4 separate regions of the Homo sapiens genome follow, and all the other regions are linked to region 2. Evidence: promoter capture Hi-C in human tissues and cell types (Jung and others, 2019). All regions are on one chromosome and are shown on one strand. Each heading gives the region's core, a stretch centred on a gene start or on the middle of the fragment in contact. The rest is flanking DNA. Distances are from core to core; before and after follow the strand shown. Region 1 holds the start of SPN (sialophorin). Region 2 holds the start of TBC1D10B (TBC1 domain family member 10B). Region 3 overlaps FBXL19 (F-box and leucine rich repeat protein 19). Region 4 overlaps BCL7C (BAF chromatin remodeling complex subunit BCL7C).

What was found. The method cuts DNA at HindIII sites, captures the fragments that hold promoters and counts their contacts. A contact is called where the count stands out against the background at its distance.
Region 1: a contact is called between the fragment with the promoter of SPN here and the fragment with the promoter of TBC1D10B in region 2, in 1 of the 25 tissues and cell types used here (lymphoblastoid cells).
Region 3: a fragment that was not itself captured here is called in contact with the fragment with the promoter of TBC1D10B in region 2 in 1 of the 25 tissues and cell types used here (pancreas).
Region 4: a fragment that was not itself captured here is called in contact with the fragment with the promoter of TBC1D10B in region 2 in 1 of the 25 tissues and cell types used here (lymphoblastoid cells).

The regions. Positions count from the first base shown.
Region 1 is chr16:29,661,903-29,664,602 of GRCh38, forward strand. It overlaps SPN (sialophorin), which reads left to right and starts at 1,345. Exons shown (of 2, transcript NM_003123.6): 1 at 1,345-1,414; 2 at 1,793-2,700. The coding sequence starts at 1,827. RefSeq lists enhancers at 60-109, 750-829 and silencers at 1,010-1,069, 2,330-2,449. The HindIII fragment of the contact is 34,536 bases long and covers 1-2,700 here.
Region 2 is chr16:30,369,150-30,371,849 of GRCh38, forward strand. TBC1D10B (TBC1 domain family member 10B) reads right to left here and starts at 1,345. Exons shown (of 9, transcript NM_015527.4): 1 at 79-1,345. The coding sequence starts at 1,034. It also overlaps a transcript of MYL11 not described here. RefSeq lists silencers at 771-850, 941-1,230. The HindIII fragment of the contact is 6,682 bases long and covers 1-2,700 here.
Region 3 is chr16:30,940,281-30,942,980 of GRCh38, forward strand. FBXL19 (F-box and leucine rich repeat protein 19) reads left to right here. Exons shown (of 11, transcript NM_001382779.1): 8 at 1,836-1,999; 9 at 2,095-2,256. Among named protein-coding and RNA genes, the nearest start is that of ORAI3, 7.4 kb to the right of the region's middle. RefSeq lists a silencer at 1,730-1,859 and an enhancer at 2,284-2,700. The HindIII fragment of the contact is 5,049 bases long and covers 1-2,700 here.
Region 4 is chr16:30,887,537-30,890,272 of GRCh38, forward strand. It overlaps BCL7C (BAF chromatin remodeling complex subunit BCL7C), which reads right to left. Exons shown (of 6, transcript NM_004765.4): 5 at 1,324-1,409; 6 at 259-454. The coding sequence ends at 329. All of the region lies in intron 2 of MIR762HG (MIR762 host gene), which reads left to right. Among named protein-coding and RNA genes, the nearest start is that of MIR762, 5.0 kb to the right of the region's middle. RefSeq lists an enhancer at 1-421. The HindIII fragment of the contact is 5,651 bases long and covers 1-2,736 here.

The DNA of each region.
Region 1 (2,700 bases), core at 95-2,594, 710 kb before region 2:
ATGTCTTTGGGTCAGACAAACTCATCAGCTTGTAGAAATGGCACAGTCCCACGGGCCTGTTAGAATCTTCTATTGTGCACATGTTGCTCTTAAAATATACAAATCAGTTTTGATTTTAAAAAATTATTTATTTTTTTAGTGATAGGAGTTTTGCTACGTTGCCCAGGCTGGTTTCAAACTCTTGGGCTCAGGAGGTCCTCCCACTTTGGCCTGGACTGCCAGCATAATGTATCACCACACCCGGGACTGATTTTCGTTTTTCAAGAACAAAAACCAAAAACATACACAAACCGAGAGTCAAAGCTTGCTAATTAGAGGAAAGTCAGGAAATGGGAACCATTCAAAGAAGAAAATACCCCCACCTCCTACTCTCACCTATCCAAAGACAATTAGGTGAATCCCTTAGTAGATATCTTTCCAGACGGTTTTCCATATAGATTCCCATATCTGGCCAGGCGCGGTGGCTCACACCTGTAATCCTAGCGCTTGGGGAGGCTGAGGCGGATGGACCACCTGAGGTCAGGAGTTCGAGACCAGCCTGACCAACATGGAGAAACCTCGTCTCTACGAAAAATACAAAATTAGCCGGGCACAGTGGTGCAAGCCTGTAATCCCAGCTACTCAGGAGGCCGAGGCAGGAGAATTGCTTGAACCTAGGAGGCAGACATTGTGCTGAGCCGAGCCAAGATCATGCCATTGCACTAAACTCCGCCTTAAAAAAAAAAAAAAAGATTCCCACATCTTTACTAGTTTGCAGAAATAAGATCCTAGCATATGCAGTGTGTAGGAACCACCTTGGTTTAGCCACGTCTCTGTGACTGGGGGCCACTGTGGTGACCCCCAGCTCCCCGGACAGAGTCAAGAGCTCACCAGCCTGCAAAGGTTTTCACGGCCCCCAGCCAGACTCGGGGGCTTCCTCTTGCCCTGCTACTTCCTGGGAGCTCTGAGGGCAGGAAATGGCGCCACTCAGCTCCTGGCCTAACAGCTTGGGGACCACAAATGCAAAGGAAACCACCCTCCCCTCCCACCTCCTCCTCTGCACCCTTGAGTTCTCAGGCTCACATTCCCACCACCCACCTCTGAGCCCAGCCCTCCCTAGCATCACCACTTCCATCCCATTCCTCAGCCAAGAGCCAGGAATCCTGATTCCAGATCCCACGCTTCCCTGCCTCCCTCAGGTGAGCCCCAGACCCCCAGGCACCCCGCTGGCCCCTGAAGGAGCAGGTGATGGTGCTGTCTTCGCCCAGCAGCTGTGGGAGCAGGCGGGTGGGGCAGGATGGAGGGGTGGGTGGGGTGGGTGGAGCCAGGGCCCACTTCCTTTCCCCTTGGGGCCCTGTCCTTCCCAGTCTTGCCCCAGCCTCGGGAGGTGGTGGAGTGACCTGGCCCCAGTGCTGCGTCCTTATCAGCCGAGCCGGTAAGAGGGTGAGACTTGGTGGGGTAGGGGCCTCAGTGGGCCTGGGAATGTGCCTGTGGCTTGAAAAGACTCTGACAGGTTATGATGGGAAGAGATTGGGAGCCATTGGGCTGCACAGGGTCAGGGAAGGCCAGGAGGGGCTGGTCACTGCTGGAATCTAAGCTGCTGAGGCTGGAGGGAGCCTCAGGATGGGGCTGATGGGGGAGCTGCCAGCATCTGTTCCTCTGTCATTTCTGATAACAGTAAAAGCCAGCATGGAAAAAACCGTTAAACCGCAGGTTGGGCCTGGCCGTTGGCAGGGAAGTGGGCAGAGGGGAGGCCCGGCCAGGTCCTCCGGCAACTCCCGCGTGTTCTGCTTCTCCGGCTGCCCACCTGCAGGTCCCAGCTCTTGCTCCTGCCTGTTTGCCTGGAAATGGCCACGCTTCTCCTTCTCCTTGGGGTGCTGGTGGTAAGCCCAGACGCTCTGGGGAGCACAACAGCAGTGCAGACACCCACCTCCGGAGAGCCTTTGGTCTCTACTAGCGAGCCCCTGAGCTCAAAGATGTACACCACTTCAATAACAAGTGACCCTAAGGCCGACAGCACTGGGGACCAGACCTCAGCCCTACCTCCCTCAACTTCCATCAATGAGGGATCCCCTCTTTGGACTTCCATTGGTGCCAGCACTGGTTCCCCTTTACCTGAGCCAACAACCTACCAGGAAGTTTCCATCAAGATGTCATCAGTGCCCCAGGAAACCCCTCATGCAACCAGTCATCCTGCTGTTCCCATAACAGCAAACTCTCTAGGATCCCACACCGTGACAGGTGGAACCATAACAACGAACTCTCCAGAAACCTCCAGTAGGACCAGTGGAGCCCCTGTTACCACGGCAGCTAGCTCTCTGGAGACCTCCAGAGGCACCTCTGGACCCCCTCTTACCATGGCAACTGTCTCTCTGGAGACTTCCAAAGGCACCTCTGGACCCCCTGTTACCATGGCAACTGACTCTCTGGAGACCTCCACTGGGACCACTGGACCCCCTGTTACCATGACAACTGGCTCTCTGGAGCCCTCCAGCGGGGCCAGTGGACCCCAGGTCTCTAGCGTAAAACTATCTACAATGATGTCTCCAACGACCTCCACCAACGCAAGCACTGTGCCCTTCCGGAACCCAGATGAGAACTCACGAGGCATGCTGCCAGTGGCTGTGCTTGTGGCCCTGCTGGCGGTCATAGTCCTCGTGGCTCTGCTCCTGCTGTGGCGCCGGCGGCAGAAGCGGCGGACTGGGGCCCTCGTGCTGAGCA
Region 2 (2,700 bases), core at 95-2,594:
AGTGTATCGTTTTCGTTTCGCCCTCCCCCAACCTTTGCTTCCCCGAGGCGGTCCCGCTGGGTGCCCACTGGTACTCACAGGCTGCCCGAGTACTGGCTGCCCCCAAGGAAGCCATACTTGTCCGTCTTGCGCAGGGCCAGCCCGTTTATCTCTGAATCTGAGCCCATGGAGCTCACATCATCCGCCAAGGACTCCAAGGTCCCAGACATGAGGCTCACGGAGTCCAAGTAACTCAGCGTGTCCGGGGCCTGCCCTCGAGGCCCAGAGATGCCAGGTCCCAGGCTGGACGTGGAGCCCAGGTCTTGAGAGTTTTCAGCAGGCTCCGGAGCTGGGGTCACGGTCACGACAGCTACCGGAGCCTCACAAGTCCCAGAGGGGCCTGTGCCAGGGCCTGAGGGGTCCTCAGGAGCCTGTCCTGCTGATGCTGATGTTGCTGCGGCAGCTCCATGCCCACCTGTCACTTGTCCTGATGCACTCCGTGCAGTCACTCCTGAGGCCACTGTGGTTCCCGGCTTGGGGGCAAGCGGGGGTTTGGCGGTCAGGGCACCAGGAGCCGTTCTGGAAGGGGTCCTGGTAGGGGTCCCGGTGGGGGTCCCTGGTCCTGGGGCGGGTGAGGGTCGAGCCTCCTCTGTCTTCGGCGAGTCTGCCCCTGCGGCCAGAGCCCTCGATGTCTCAACTCCAGCCACTGCCGCGGGCTCTGGGGATTCCGGGCCGGAGGGGAGCTGCGGCTTTGGGGCTTCGGGCGAGGCCTCCAGGGTCAGCACCACCACCGTGCTGCCCGTGACAGCCGGGGCTGGGGCCGGGGCTGGGGCCGGGGCCGGAGCAGAGGTCTCGGCCGACCCCGGGACCCAGGCGGGCCGCGCCTCCCCGGGGGCCACCAGGGTGACGGGGGCCGAAGTGGCCGTAGTCACTGGAGGTCCCGGAGCCACCACCACGACGGGCCCGGCCCGGGAACCCCGGGGCGGCGGCGAGGGGGCCGCGGGGGCGCCATGACGGCGCGGCGGGGCCACCAGGGGCGCCGTGCCCGTCTCCATGGCCGCGGGCCGCCCCTCACATCCCCCCGCCGGGGAGGCCGCAGAAGGCGCCGCCCCTCGGGCCTCCCGGCGAGGCCAGCCGAGAAAGGGGAGAGGGCGAAGGGCGCGGCTCGGCGCGCGCCGGGGGCGGAGCGGCCGCTGGGCGCGCAGAGGCGGGGCAGGGGTCGGGGGGCGCCGCGCGCCGGGGTCTCTCTCGAGCCCTCTCACCCCCTCGCGCGCTCTCGCCACCGCCCCCTCCCTCCTGCTTGGGGGCGAGCCGCCGACCTCGCGCCTGCGCACACGCCGCAGAGCCGGCTCCGCGCCAGCGTCTCGGCGTTCCACGCCTGCGCGCGGACTGGCTCATCGCGCTCCTTTTTTCTCCCGCCTAGTCAGAGGATTTGGACGAATAGTGGGAGAGAGAGAACTGGGCTTCTGCCAATCGTTGGAATCGTGGGCGGGGCTGGAGGCGAAAAAGGGGTGGGTCATCTGGAAAGAGGAAACGGAGAAAGCTAGGGCTGTAAGACCAATCAGAGGACGAGGAAAGGCAGGGGGCGATGGGACGAAAGAAATAACCAATAGAAACGCAGGGGTCTGAACCTCCTGGCCAATGAATATGACTGAAGGGTGAATGACCGCGGAAGGGCGGAGGAGGAGGCAGGGCTGTGCGAGTAAGAGGTGGGGCCTGGAGGCTTCTTAACCAATAGGAATGGTAAAAAGGGAGCCAATGAAAAGGGGAGCAGGTGGAGGTCAAATTGACAGGCAGTGATGTCTATTTAGGCGGTGACAGACAGCATCCGCAGTCAATAGGAAGAGCTGAAGAATTCTTTAGGTCTCCCAAAATGGTCAGTAAGGAATGACAGCTGGGAGGAGGCGGGGCAAGCTAGAGATTAATTCGCCCCGTCAGCCAATGATCGTGTTCTCCCACTTTGGCCACAGGACAGGAAAATAGATAGCTGTCTCAGCCAATGGGAGCATCCAAAGGGCAAAGATGCTGCCAGCAGGCGGTGCCAGCCCAGGGATAGTCGGTGACAACCGGAGACAAGCCTTATGGGAGGGTGACAGCTGGGGACAGCACGGAGAAGGGGCGGGGGCATTAGTGCAGCCCTCAACCAATGAGTGCCGCGCTGCCCCCTCTCGAGTCCTTTCCGGTCCCCTATTCTTCGTTCAGCTCCTGAGCCCCACACTCTGGTGGTCTGTGGGACCCTGAGCCCCACCACAGATCCAGTGCCCTGACCCAGTACTCTCATCCTTTACTCTATAATTCTCCGATCTCGGCCCCCAACTAACCCCAACACTCCAGGCCCAGGTGGCAATAGCCAGAGCCCCCAGATCCTATAAGCAACCCATATCTCTGCTTCACCCATTTCCTGCGGGAATCCCAACCTCCAAGTCCCTCTCCTCAGTTCCCATCTATCTGAGCTCCTCCCCAGAACCCAGGCTCCAGTTCCTCAGACCTTATCCCTCTGAGTACCCCCTCCATTTCTTCTAGTGGGGATCTCAAACCCCAAATCCATGAATCCCTAATACCATGAACTCCCCATATGTGTGTTACTATTCTTTTGGGGATCCAAGGCCCCAGTCCCGTCAACCCCTCTCCCCTCACTGCCACATCCCTCTGTGCTCCTCATGTTCCACTGAGAATCCCGACCTCAATCTCATGAGCGCTCCAGGTTGTCCTTAGATCACA
Region 3 (2,700 bases), core at 96-2,595, 570 kb after region 2:
GTGGTGGCATGTGCCTGTAGTCCCAGCTACTCAGGAGGCTGAGGTAGGAGGATGGCTTGAGCCCAGGAGTTTAAGGTTGCAGTGAGCTGTGATCGCAGTACTGCACCCCAGCCTGGGTGACTAAGCAAGACACTGTCTCAAGAAAAAAAAAAAAAAGCTTCCTGGGCCTGCTGCTTCTGACACAGTCTATTGAGTCTCAGAGGCATTTCTGGACATGCCTTTGAGAACTACTGAACTCAGAGAAGAGAGTTCTCAAACTGAGTCCAAAGGAACTTCAGTGTACTACAAAATGTTACTAGATTACCTTGGGAGAGGTGGGGAAGGATTCCTGGGGAAGTACGTTTGAGAGGCCCTTCTCCAGTTCACTGCATGTTTTTTGTTTGTTTGTTTGTTTGTTTGTTTTTGAGATGGAGTCTCTCACTGTTGCCCCAGCTGGTGTGCAGTGGTGCGATCTCGGCTCGCTGCAATCTCCGCCTCCCGGGTTCAAGTAATTCTCCTGCCTCAGCCTCCCGAGTAGCTAGGATTACAGGCGCCCGCCACCATGCCCAGCTAATTTTTTGTACTTTTAGTAGAGACAGGGTTTCACTAGTAGAACAGCCAGGCTGTTCTCGAATTCCTGACCTCATGATCCACCCACCTCGGCCTCCCAAAGTGCTGGGATTACAGGTGTGAGCCACTGCACCCAGCCCACTGCATGTTAGATAGTCTGTTGAGGCCTGTGGAGTGCTCGGGTTAGGAAACCTGTTTAATGTTGCTTAGGACTCGTTCATCTTTGTAGCTTCAATACTTGGGACCTATAACGCTTTCTATAATCAGAGTGAATAAATGAAATGCTGTAGATGAGGAGGTGGGGGAGAGTGGTCAGTGGAAGCTTTAAGTAGTTACTAGCTTGATTCATTCATTACAAATGGGCAGCTGGGTGCAGTAGCTCATGCCTGTAATCCCAGTGTTTTGGGAGGCCAAGGCAGGAGGATCGCTTGAGGCCAGGAGATCAAGACCAGCCTAGGCAACATAGTGAGACCCTGTCTCTACAAAAAAATTGTTTAAAAATTAGCCAGGCGTGGTGACATGTGCCTGTGGTCCCAGCTACTCAGGAGGCTGAGGTGGGAGGATTGCTTGAGCCCAGTAGGTTGAGGCTGCGGTGAGCCTGAGTCCAGCCTGGGTTACAGAGTGAGACCCTGTCTCAAAAAAAATTTTTTTTCAAAAAGTGGAAAACGCAAATCTGCCCTTGTGGAATTTACATTGTAGTTGGAGGAACACAGTAATGTAATAGGGAAGATATTAGGGCTGTAAGTCCAGCTGCGGGCAGCTGGCTGTCAAGATGGGACAGGTGTGGATCAGAAGCAGAGATGAGTAAAGGAGGCAAGGACCCATGAGCACCAGAACTCAGTCAGGAATCAAGAAGCCCAAGGGTGGCTGGAGACGACTGGATAACACCAGTCCCCTTGGCATGACATCAGGCAGCATGCGTGGCATTTGTGTATGTGTTGGGCAGCACACTTTCTATGCTGGGAGGCCCACAGCTGGGATGAGCCCATGTGACCTGACAGCTGCCCTGTGGGCAGGCAGAGTGGGGGGGCTATTGCCTTCAATCATAAACGAGGCTTCTGAGGCTCAGGGAGAGGAACAGACTTGCCCAGGGTCTCATTTCCAGTTAGTGATGGAGTTGGGTTCCAATCCCAGTGCTCTTGGCTGAGGTCAGGTGCTTCTTGCTACCCTGTTGTCTGTGTGGCCAGAAGAGAGCTGGGGTGCACCCTTGGAGCTGGGGAGCCTGGGAACTGTGGGCTGCTGAGAGCTGAGGGCTGAGGTCTCTGTCTCCCCCCTATGGCCGCCAGGTGCTATGACAAGCGTCTGTGGCCTCGAATGGACCTGAGCCGGCGGAAGTCACTGACCCCGCCCATGCTCAGTGGTGTGGTTCGCCGCCAGCCCCGTGCCCTGGACCTCAGCTGGACAGGTGTCTCCAAGAAGCAGCTCATGTGGCTTCTGAACCGACTACAAGGTAGGGTGTGTGGTACGGAGGACAGGGTGGGGACAGGGACAGGCCTGGGATGGAGTCCTCACAGCACCTGCTTCCTGACTGCCCCCTCTCCGCAGGCCTGCAGGAGCTGGTGCTCTCTGGCTGCTCCTGGCTCTCTGTCTCTGCCCTGGGCTCAGCCCCACTGCCAGCCCTGCGGCTCCTGGACCTCCGCTGGATCGAGGATGTTAAAGACTCCCAGCTCCGGGAGTTGCTGCTGCCTCCACCAGACACCAAACCAGGTGCAACCTCTGTTTGCTTTTCTGGAGAATGGGCTGGGCAAGGGTAGGGTAGGAGGCCTCTCAGGTCTCTTCTGACTCATGCTGGATGGTAAAGTATTTGAAGAAAGGAAAGAATACATGAGTTTGAATAGGAAGGCCCTGGTTGGGCATTATTCATTCATTCACCCACCTGCTGTGTACTTTGAACTGAGTCTTGAAAGGAACAGGGTTTTCCCAGGGAGTGTGAGACTCAGCAGTTTGGTGGGGCAGGAGGCCCATATTGGCAGAGGGGGATGCTGGGAGCAGAGGCCATCTCTCTTCATCTACTTAAATCTCATCATCCTTTAGGCCTGGGTATAAATGCCACTTCCTCCAAGAAGCTCTCCCTGATCCCACCCCACATTGAGCTCAGAGTCCCTCTCAGCTTTGAGAGCAGCCCGCCAGCATAATACTGGGCAATTGTGG
Region 4 (2,736 bases), core at 169-2,668, 520 kb after region 2:
AGGCCCAGGCGAGGGCTGAGCAGGAAGAGGGGTCCTGGGCCTCCCAGAGGAGGAGGTGAAGGTCGGGAGATAGGACAGACCTGGGAAGTACTGAGAGGCAGGGTCCTGGCTCAAGCCCCCACCCCACTCTGCCTTGTGGTGTCACTACAGGAAGGTCCTCTCAGAGCCTCAGTGACCACATCTGAGCAATGGTGCATGAGACAAAACTGTCTCCAAAGACCCTCCCCAGCCCTGACGGGGAAATGACATGACACAAAATTACAAAAGGGTCTTTATTTGTAAAAAGCCAAAGGGGCCCCTGGGGCAACAGGACAGGCAGGCCGGCTTCTCAGGGGTCAGGGGCATTTGGGCAGATGCGCTTGAGTGGGGGGGCACCCTCCGAGTCCTCTGTGTCACCCTGGGCTGCCTCAGGGACAGGTGGCACTGGCTCAAAGACAGGGTAAGCTTCGGGGGCCTGGAGAGGAAGGGTGGACAGGCGTGAGCTCCACAGAACCCAGGCGTCCAGCCTCTGAGCCTCTGCCTTCTCCAAAGCCTCCACTCCCCTCCCCTCCTGGGCCCGGGAGGCAAGCCCAGGGCCAGATGCCCAGGATGCAGAGGAAGCAGGCACCAAAAACAACAACGACAGTGACACTGTGTGGAGGAACGAACCTGATATTTGATATTTCTGAAAATGCCTCGAGGTAGCCTCGTGAGAAATGTCAGAGGTTTATAAGGAATTTTCTTATGCTAATTATACAGTTAGATATTTTTTGATATTTTTTGAAAATGCATGGAGGAGCGCCATGATTTTGTCAGGCTTTATTTATTTATTTATTTTTGAGAAGGAGTCTCGCTCTGTCACCCAGGCTGGAGTACAGTGGCGCGATCCTGGCTCACTGCAGCCTCCGCCTCCCGGGTTCAAGCAATTCTCCTGCCTTAGCCTCCCGAGTAGCTGGGACTACAGGCACGTGCCACCACGCCCGGCTAATTTTTGTATTTTTAGTAGAGACGGGGTTTCACCGTGTTAGCCAGGATGGTCTCGATCTCCTGACCTCATGATCCACCCGCCTCCGCCTCCCAAAGTGCTGGGATTACAGGCGTGAGCCACCACGCCCAGCTTTGTCAGGCTTTTAATGGTCTCAATCAGCCCTGATCCAGCCCTCAGCACTTTGTCTCTGAAACACCCTTTCTTTTTCAGTCCCAAGAACCCAGCCCCTAAGCCTTCAGCTCTGTCCCAGGTCTGCCTCTCCTCCAGGCCCTCAGGACGCAGGCTCCAAGCCTTCGACTGCCCAGATCCCCCATTCCCTCCAAGACCCAGGAGTCCAGCCTTCTGGCCTCTCTCACCTCAGCTTCCAGCAGTTCTGGAACAGGCTCCTCCTTGGTCAGCATTGGGGGTTCGTCGGTGCTGCCAGCAGTTATGCCCCCGGGATCTGGAACGTCAAGGTAACAAACATCCCCTGAACAGCCACTCTGTGCCAGCAGCACAGACAGTGGGGGAAACAGATGGTCACAGGCCCCAGTCACAGAGGGCAGAGGGCCATGGGAGCAGAGAGGAGAGAGCAGGAACCTGGCTGTGCCCCAGGAAGCAGAGGAGGGAACACTGATGTGGGAGCTCGAGGGTGATGCGGTGGACAGGAAAGTATGACACGTGAGACAGAGGGAATGCATGCTAAGTTGCCACAGATTCTGGGCTTGGACTGCCTGGGTTCAAATCCTGACCTTGGGCCAGCTACTTCATTTCCATGGGCCTCAGTTTCCCCATCTGTAAAATGGGGATAATGATAGTAATTACCTCATGTGGCTGTTGTGAGGGTCAGATGAGCGGATGCAGGTAAAGCACAGTGGCTGGCACACAGTAAGTGCTCAATAAATGCTTGCTACCATTTTTATATTAGCAAAGGTATACAACTGCTTGGCACTGTCTAGACCCAGACCCAGTCCACAGGCCCACATCAGGGTTTTCTTTTTGTGTGTTTGTTTGTTTTAGTTTTTGAGACAGAGTCTCGCTGTGTCCCCCAGGCTGGAGTGCAGTGGCGCGATCTCGGCTCACTGCAACCTCCGCCTCCCAGGTTCAAGTGATTCTCCTGCCTCAGCCTCCCTAATAGCTGGATTACAGGCATGTGCCACCACGTCCCGCTGATTTTTTGTATTTTTAGTAGAGACAGGGTTTCACATTCTGGGAGGCTGAGGCAGAAGGATCGCTTGAGCCTAGGAGTTTGAAACCAGCCTGGGCAACATAGTAAGACCCTGTCTCTATAAAGAATAACAACACTAATTAGCTGAGCATGGTGATGCATGCCTGTAGTCCCAGCTACTCAGGAGGCTGACTGAGCCCAGGAATCCAAGGCTGCAGTGAGCCGTGATCACGCCTCTGCATTCCAGCCTGGGCGACAGAGTGAGACCTTGTCTCAAAAAAAAAAAAAAAAAAGCAAAGCTTAAAAAATGAAGGAAAAAGTTGTTCTGGCAGCTGTGTGGAGGTGACTAGAAGAGACCAGCTGGAACCAAAAACGGGTGAGAAATGGGAAGGCCAGGGACAGGGAGCCTAGGAGGAAGAGGTGCCAATCAGACGGGTTTGACTGCATGGAAGAAAGCAGAGCTGGCTGGGCACGGTGGCTCAAGCCTGTAATCCCAGCACTTTGGGAGGCCGAGGCAGGTGGATCACGAGGTCAGGAGTTCAAGACCATCCTGACCAACATGATGAAACCCCGTCTCTACTAAAAATACAAAAATTAGCCGGGTGTGGTGTTGTGCAGCCTG